Linked DNA regions of Homo sapiens: region 2 is linked to region 1. The links are contacts of gene promoters, found by promoter capture Hi-C in blood cells and fetal thymus (Javierre and others, 2016). All regions are on one chromosome and are shown on one strand. Each heading gives the region's core, a stretch centred on a gene start or on the middle of the fragment in contact. The rest is flanking DNA. Distances are from core to core; before and after follow the strand shown.

Region 1 (4,351 bases), core at 46-2,545:
ATCTAAATCAGAAAGCTCTGGCTTCTTGAAAACAAACTTTATTAAAAACGTCTTCCCAGTCCAACATGTAGCCTCATAGGGCACACACAATTTCTTTGCCTGAGCCTTAAAGATTACACCGAGTCAGTGGACTAGATGATATTGATGGCTGCAGAGAAAGAAGAATGGAAGAATGAAGTTTGAAGCTAATGCTTGAGTATGGGATTTTTACTCTGCTGCTGCTGTCCTGTGCAAACTAATTGCCAAATAGACCAGGCTGTAAAGCATCATAACTAGAGGTGATGAAGGGCAAGAAGCCACCCTCATGCCAGCAGCCTCCCGTATCCATTCACTTATTCACACAAATAGTTGTTGAAGGCCTGCACTGGGCCTGGCAGGGTGCAGGGGCTGAAATGCCTCCGGAACAAGACAGACCAGCTCTCATGGAGTTCCCACTGCAGACAGGGGTAGATTGTTGTAACAACAGCAAAAAGTAAAAGCAAACAGGGTAGTTTCAGATTGTACTGTAGCATTGGCCCTGGGTACATCATTTAACCCGTCTCTTAGAGGGTTCGGGTAGGATAGGGGCGCTGTTCTTTTTCTCCACTCCCAACCTGCGGGAGCCAGATACCTCCCAGGGCTTCCTCTCCTTCCCCTCCTTTGCTGCCCCAGGGGCAGGTCTGAAGGAGGACTGGTTAGTGACAGCTAAGGGGCCCGGAGGGCTGGGAGGCTGTCCCTCCTCCCCGCTCCAACCCCCGCGCGCTAGGGCGGGGTTGGGGCAGTGAGCGAGGTCAGGAGGCTGCGCCCCCTACTCCCCGCCCGGCGGGCGCGGTGCCGGCCCCAGCTCTGCGGACGGCCCGGGAGGCTGATCTGGCTGCGGAGGTCGATCCTGATAGCTCGGGGGCAGGAGGGGGGCTGGCCCTGCTCCTCACGCCCACCCCGCAGGGACCCAGACGCCCCTCCGGCCCCCTCCCTGCACCCCGTCAGCCCGGGAGCTGCAGGAGACCGGGGCGCATCTTTCCAAGCGCCGGGCCTCGCTCTGGGACAACGGTGTCCTGGGGGCGGGGAGGGCGCGCGGAGGTGCCAGGGGCGGCGGGGTACCCGGCCCGGCAGCACCGCTTCAAGTTTCCACCGGCGCGGTTGTGCAACCGGGAGGGGAGCGTGAGCCGCAGGCGCCTCGGAAAACAAGCCGAGCCCATAAACAAAGCCACGTGGCCTCCGGGCCGGGGGGCCGGGCTAAGAGCGGGCGGCTCTTCCGGCAACAAAGAGCTGCGGCCGGCTGCGGGGATAAATACTGCGGCAGCTACTGCCGCGCAGCACTCCCGGAGCCTGCAACGCTTGAGATCCTCTCCGCGCCCGCCACCCCGCAGGGTGCCCCGCGCCGTTCCCGCCGCCCCGCCGCCCCCGTCGCGGGCCCCTGCACCCCGAGCATCCGCCCCGGGTGGCACGTCCCCGAGCCCACCAGGCCGGCCCCGTCTCCCCATCCGTCTAGTCCGCTCGCGGTGCCATGCCATTCCTCGGGCAGGACTGGCGGTCCCCCGGGCAGAACTGGGTGAAGACGGCCGACGGCTGGAAGCGCTTCCTGGATGAGAAGAGCGGCAGTTTCGTGAGCGACCTCAGCAGGTGAGGGGACCCGCTACCAACTTCCAGCCCCCGCGAAACTGACCCGGGCTGGTCTGGGGGGCGCAGGGACGGCGAATGAGGGGCAGGCAGGGCTGGAGCGGGCTGAGGAGGGAGACCCTGACCCGGAGGGTGGGACTACGGGGCCCGATTTCTGCAGAGGTCTTCGGACCACCGGAGACAGGGAATTCGGTTTCTCTTATTGTTCAAGGTCAGTGTCTCCAAGTGGACACGACTCCTTACAGAACACCTGGTCCCTCTGAGAGTCTGATGACATTCGCGGATCGTGTCCCCAAACGTTCGCTCAAACTTAATCACACAGCTTTAGTGGTCCCTGCTTTAAGGACACCGGAGTCGCGCACTTTGCCCATGTGGGGGCGCGGGCGGGTGGGCTGAGCCCCTTCACCGCGGGGTGGCCCGGCTCCCAGCGCCCAAGCGCTGTGGACGCGACAGGTGACGGGATCCGACGAAGGTCCCGCCTGGAGCGCTTCCAGGCCCTGCCCAGGCACGGGCAACCACGAAGTGGCCGGGAGGATGAGTAACCAGGAAGGGACGGCCAGATGGTCCCTGGGGCAGCCGCTTACTGGGCGGACTTGCGAGCGGTGGAGGCTTGGGGCTGCAGAGGTGCAAAGGAGGGAAGGGGGCAGGGGATGAATCCCACAAGAGCTCTGCTTCTGGGAGGACAGGGCTCTTGCACCTGTTTCCTCGGTGGCCCTCTCGGTCGGTCTGCTTTGTATAGAGTGCACTCCGTTTCCAGGGGTGCCTGTCAGCTGCGAAAAGCCTGCCTGGCCCCGGTGAGCCTCTGGATTCGAGGCCTCACCTGAGCTCTGTGGTCTGGCGGGAAACCTGAGGTCCGCTGCGCTCCCTGCTCAGCTTGGCTAACGATGCCAGCGCCGGCTAGTACGCAAGGTAGCCTGGAATTTCTCAGCCCCTGACCTCGACAGTTGACTTTCAGAGACTCTCAGCATTTAGCCCGGTGAGCGGGGGCGATGAAAGTGATTCCAGAATGGACTGGTGCAGCCAGAGTCACCCTTGGGAGCCTTTTCCTGCCACCTTTGGTTAAAACCATGGGCCCCTGCACCCTTAAATTGACTTCAATGGAGAATTCTGTTTCTGGGCCAGGTTCCCGCTTACTGAGATTTACCAGTCGTTGCTTGGATGAAGCATTGGCAATAAATTTTGAGAAAACTATCAAGAAAATGTGGTTATTTTGGCAACTTGAACTCCCGTGCCTCCCATTTGTTTGTGATTTGTAATGCATCAAATTCCCATTGTCTCACAATGTAAAGAAAGACATTATTTAATTCTGGGGGTCTGTCCGGAGAGACTTGAGCGTATTAACCACCAGCATATAACCATTTACGTTGGAGTTACTTGGAGGCTGTCCCAGGGGAGTTTAGGGACCACCATAAGGAAATCTTATTTACGTAAAATCAAGTAATTTATTTACGGGAAAGTAAGACCAACTGCTATTGACAGACTATGTCTTTTATCGACTGGAGTTACCAATTATGCCTAAATTATTCTCCCTCAACAAAATGGGAACCTTCCTTCCTTCCTCCTTGTTCCTAAGGACAATGATCTAATATGTTGGTACTTTATTTCTGTATACAAGTTCAGGTTCTTTCTAGAAAAGTGCCGAAAGGGTCTGAAGAGTCATGTTAGAGCTGCTCACCCAAATATAATTGCAGGATGCTCCTCAGTGGAGAACAGATGATTGAGTTCAGCAGAAGATTTAAAATGTAGGGTCGTATTAATACTTACCCTACTCGGGAGGCTGAGGTGGGAGGATGGCTTGTGCTCAGAAGTTCAAGGCTGCAGCGAGTCATGACTGTGCCACTGCGCTCCAGCCTGGGCCACAGAGCGAGACCCTGTCTCTAAAAATAAATAAAAATTTAAAATTTGTTTTAAAATACCCTATACCGGCATCAGGAGAGAAACTGGTGTCACTCTCCTTTAGAAATAGTGGTATCTCTGTCTTCACAGTATGGAAGACCTGAAGATGGTCTTAACTTACCACAAAAGTTTAGACTGGGCTGGAATCAGGTGGTTTCCTGCACAGCCCCCCTCCCGTGTCCTGTTCATGAGCCTCTTTTTCTTCCCATTTCACACCTGAGCTGGAGCTGTCACATCCATCATCATTACCGCAAATAGTCATTGATATACTGACCACCTGTGGTCCTTTGAGTCAGCGTTTAGGAATCATTTGGTAGCCTCCTAGCAAAGCAGCTGGCTGTTTGTTTGCAGGGTATTTTTTTTTCCAGCAACTGTAAACAATCCCTTCCCTGCTTAGCATGAGAAGCCTGCAACTTCTTAAAAGCAGTTGGCCTTCTGTGGTCTGGGTTTGTCATCTCAAATATCCTCACTGTTTTTGGTCTTGGTGATGTTTCCCCGTGATGTCAGGTTTGGACTGCGTGCCTGCCTGCACAGGTGAAGCTGAATGCCTCTCCTGTTATGAGAAAACAAAAGGCAGGCCCTTAAGCGGGGAGGGACCGTGAAACAGAGAACTACAGAGACATGGTAGACTGACTTCTCTAATTCCACAGACCATTCTGCAAACGGCCCAAACAAGAGCCCGGGATGAAGGATGCATTTGGTGGTTTTCAGCCTGGGGTTATTGTTTCGTGTTGACCAAGTCTTGTCCACACAGCACACCTATTCTGGACTCAGCTGGCCATCTTCTCTGTGGTCTAGGACTCCAACCTTCTCCAGTGTAGAATGTTACAAATCCAGTCCCAGCCATGTGTCCAGG
Region 2 (4,752 bases), core at 1,714-4,213, 920 kb before region 1:
TATAGTATCCCACTGATGGGAAGTATAGGACCTTTCACCTTAGGTGGGATCCTGTAATCCGGGTTTCTGATAATTGCTTCTCATTTCACAGTTACACCCAACTGGATATAATAAAACTTCAAGATGGAAGATTCAGTATTGTAAAGATGTTGACCTATATATTCTATGTAATCTCAATTAAAAAAAAATCTCAGCAGGTTCTTTTTTCCAAAAATCAAAAAGCCAATTTTAAAATTCCTAAGAAACTGGAAAAGGTCAAGAATACCTAAGGCAGTCTTAAAAAACAAAGTTGAAGGATTTATACTGTGAGACATCAGGACCTATTCTAAGCTATAGTAATGAAGACGAGATAGTATTGGTGCATGGATAGAAAAACTGACCCATGGAACAGAACAGAACAGAAAGTCTAGAAAAACTCCACACATATAGGGTCACTTGATTCATTAGAAAAGTGACACTAGAGTGCAGTGGGAAACATGATAAGCCAACAATATAATAGGACTCTGGATACTGCTTAACAAAGGACAGCATATCACTTAATGGTGAAACATGCTGGAAGCATTCTCCCTAAAGTTAAGAGTAAGAAGGTTGCTCACTGTCACCATTACTATTTATCATTGTATTAAGAGGTGGGGGCTGGGAATAAGGCAAGTTAAAATGCTTCCCTGTTTACCAAGATTTAGCTGTTTTTCTCAAATAGAGGCACCTCAGATTATTTCAAGCTTTTAGTTACTTTCTAGAGTTCTGAAAAAGTTGACTGACCATTTTTGCCTGTGTTCTCATTGCTTTTATAGAGAAGCCAGTATTTGGAGATGTTTACCCTGCTGTTTTGGAAGTTGTCCACTTTACTTGATATTGGGACATATCAAGAGACCACTATATGGTCTTGAGTGTAAACTACAGGTATATTCCTTCCTGCCATCATCGTGTAGCAATAACGCTATTTCCTCCTGATGATTGGATTCATTTACCCCAACTAACATGGTGACTCTTCCTTGCCTGCTGGTCTCCTAGCACAAGGACCTTGAACCGGGAAACCTCAGCAAGTTAAAGTTTAAAGGATCTATTATTGTGTCTCTTGATGAAAAGGTTCCTCTCTTGGGAATCAGGACTTCTAATTCACAAAGTTGCGGGGATGAGAAGTCCAAACTCCCCACTTGGGTCACTGGGAGTGAGAGTATGTGGTTATATTAATTTCCTATCACTGCTATGACACTACGAACTTAGTGGTTTCAAACAACACAAATTTATTTTCTTACAGTTCTGGAAGCCTAAAATCAAGATATCAACTGGACTGTTTTTCCTGAAGTCTTCAAGAAAAAGTCTGTTTCCTTGCCTTTTTCAATTTCTAGAGGCTACCTACATTTCTTGGCTCATGGCCCCTTACTCATATCACCCCATCCTCCTGCTTAAGTCATTGCATCTACTAGGCAAATCTGCCTCTCTCTTGTAAGAATCTTTATGATTATATTGGGCCTATTGGATAGTCCAGGATAATCTCTGTATCTTGAGATCATTAACTTAGTCATATCCACAAAGTCTCTTTTATCTTGAAGGTAAAATATTCATAGAATCCAGGATTAGGATCTGAACATATTTGGGGGCCATTATTCAGCCTACTACACAGTAGGAATTCTATTTATATCCTTTCATTCCCAAACATGCATGTTATGTATATATGAGACACAGCACCATAAAATGAGTGTTGATTTAGAGTATATACTGTACCCTGGTGGACAAGGTCATTCCATTTTCACAGGCTATTATCTTCAAGCTTTTGCTTCAGTTTCACCTTCAAAAGGGTTTTTCATCATTCCATCAGACCCGCATTTTCTCGGTTATATAGTATGTGATAGGACTAGTGGATCTCATGGTTATGTACCTGCTGATACACCTCCTTTGCTGTAAAGTGCATCCCTAAATCAAAGGCAATATTACACAGGATACATGTTGATGGATCAAATACCTGTAAACCTGTGAGTAGTAGAGCTGGCCAACAACTTATAGGCAAGGAAGTCAAACTCATACATGCAGATGGGCAGTTTCTAGTCAAGGAGAATCACTGCCCATTCTAGGATGGAAGGAATCCAACATAAATCAATTTGCTGCCCAAGTAGCTGTTTGGTATCCTTGAGGGTTGGTGCTGTATCAGGAACTTGGTGTTTAACACTGGGGAGTGGCTATTTTGTTGTTGTTGTTGTTGTTGTTTTGTTTTGTTTGAGACGGAGTTTCACTGGTTGCCCAGGCTGGAGTGCCGTGGCGCCATCTCGGCTCACTGCAACCTCTGCCTCCTGGGTTCAAGGGATTCTCCTGCCTCAGCCTCGTGAGTAGCTGGGATTACAGGCATGCGCCACCACGGCCAGCTAATTTTGTATTTTTAGTAGAGACGGGGTTTCTCCATGTTGGTCAGGCTGGTCTCAAACTCCAGACCTCAGGTGATCCGCCCACCTCAGCCTCCCAAAGTGCTGGGATTACAGACAGGAGCCACCGCGCCCAGCCTGGGGAGTGGCTATTGGATAAGTGGAGGCTATCTATTGGCTTCTTGCTCACTTGCATTCCTGCAAGATGACTACTTTGTCATAAGCCCCCTGTGCCATTCCTGGGGGCGGAGGGAGGGGGCGGTGGAGCCGATGGTTGTAGCTGCTGAAGTTTACTGGCTAAATCTGTCTACTTGGTTATTTAATGCTGCTTACATGTTGGATTGTCTCTGGCAGATAAAGATTGTGTTATACAATACAAAAAGCCCTCCTTATGTGCCATATCTGATATATTTCTCCTCTGCTTCTCCAGACTTCTTGTCCCTGATATACCAGTCTTATTCCAGACCCCTGATCAACTAGCCAACTTATTTGCCATGAAAATATGTTCTTAGTTCAAGACACTTTCTTTCCACACACAGTTGATGACCAGGAATACTGCCCCACATTATGCCTTTTGGGAGGGTTCTCCTTACTGCTGTCTTTTAAGGCCAGTCCTGTGTGGGGCTGTAGGGCAGTAGCAGTCCATTTTTGTTTTGAACCTATATTCCAAGAAACCTCAGTGAATTCAGCTCAGGCTTTTTTGTCCTCCATAAGCTAGACATGAGAGCCTCCCAAGTGGCCATAATTGTGAGCTGAGGAAGGGACATTGGTAAAGAATCAGATATGACATGGGAGCCTGACCACCTGCCTTTGCCCAGCTCATGATGGGCCTCTCTGGCTACATGGTCACTTGATGTCCATAATCAGTTCTTACCAAGGCACATTAGCATGGATAGAGTTGTTTTTGGGATTTTGCACTGCAGATGGCCCAGCCTTGCCACAGAATGCCAGGAGTCGACCTTGTGATTCTCCCATTGGAGCTTGCCTTCAACTTTCATGGCTTCTTATCACATTTACTCTTGTCCCATAGAATATCCTGAATTGGTCCATGCAACAGGGCTAAATACACCATACCTGCTAGAGAACTTTTACATGCTATGGATCCCACTGAAAACTGGCAGATTTCTATCTCACCCAGTTTACGAGTCAGAACAGTACTGCCAACTTCTGAATTCCCACAGAAGCCTACACAGCTTGGTGTGCTTCCCTGGTGGCAGAATAATTTTGGTGAAATGAGTGGGTGAGATGCAATAATTTGTCCTTTACTGTGAAGGGGATATCTTGGCATTCAAGCAGCCTACTGGGCCCTAAAAGTTTCACTGAGGTAACAGCTTGCTGGGTCTTAAGGATTATTTCCCATCCTCCAGTGTACAGTATGCTAGCTGCTTATTATTCACCTTATCCAGCTAGCATGATGTCATCAATGTGGTAGGTCATTGTGACATTATGTGGGATGTTTAGATGGTCTAGATCTCTTCGGATTATGACGCAGTGTGGAAGAGTTAACATAACCCTAAGCCAATACTATAAATGGGTACTGCTGTCCTATATAAACACAAACTTAATTCTTGTCCAGCACTCTCAGGACCCAGTTCCATACACATGCTCATGGTTCCTGTTGGTACATGTTGGTTAGATCCTGCATCTCTTTGGTCATATAAGCCCATTTGGAATTGAAAGTAGACACACAGAATGAGGGCAAAACACCTGCAGAACAGCTGCTTCATCATGGTGGGCTTTTTTCATATTAGGTTTTGTTACCTTTGAGTTTTTAAATTATGTGTAAAGCTTCGATTAAAAAAATAAAAATTATTAAAAAGAAACTGAGACAGTCTATCCACCTATCTCTATTTACCCAGTGCTGTTGTTGTGTTACATAAAATTCAATTTTAGCTTCATGTTCATGCAATATTTTCGTTTACCCTTGATTCAACCTTGACCTTTAAAAAGCCAAAAAGACAAATACCTATTTTGACACTGGTTCTGATCTCTCTGAAATTCTGTGTGACCAATGGTCAAGTAACCTTGCAGGTTATTTATCATGTCTAATCTGAAAAAAGTCATTGTATTTACTAATATTTTAATATTCACCTTATAGGTAAGCATTCTAAACATGATTGTGGCAAGAAATTCTTATATGCTTTACATGTTGAAATTCTGTGTCAAATGAAGTACATATGTATATTATTGCAAGAGTGAATTTCTTCAGTAATGATTGTGACAGCTAGTAAATTTAAGTAGAAAGTAATTATAAACTTCCAAATACTTTTTTTAAATGGGCAAAATATATGAAACAATGGCCCTGAAGGCATTGGACATAGGCAGTGAAGGATAGTAATCCATGAGAGATGGAATGCAAACAAGGTGAGCAATACAATTGCTCCAACTTGCT

The links. Contacts are between HindIII fragments. The CHiCAGO score rates a contact against its expected background, and 5 or more counts as called.
Region 2: a fragment that was not itself captured here is called in contact with the fragment with the promoter of FBXO32 in region 1 in 1 of 17 cell types (total CD8 T cells); the score reaches 5.1 in total CD8 T cells.

The regions. Positions count from the first base shown.
Region 1 is chr8:123,538,150-123,542,500 of GRCh38, reverse strand. FBXO32 (F-box protein 32) reads left to right here and starts at 1,295. Exons shown (of 9, transcript NM_058229.4): 1 at 1,295-1,602. The coding sequence starts at 1,487. RefSeq lists silencers at 769-1,058, 1,149-1,258, 1,309-1,398. The HindIII fragment of the contact is 4,426 bases long and covers 1-4,351 here.
Region 2 is chr8:124,463,701-124,468,452 of GRCh38, reverse strand. RNF139-DT (RNF139 divergent transcript) reads left to right here. Exons shown (of 2, transcript NR_108047.1): 2 at 795-4,752. Among named protein-coding and RNA genes, the nearest start is that of RNF139-DT, 8.5 kb to the left of the region's middle. The HindIII fragment of the contact is 2,374 bases long and covers 1,777-4,150 here.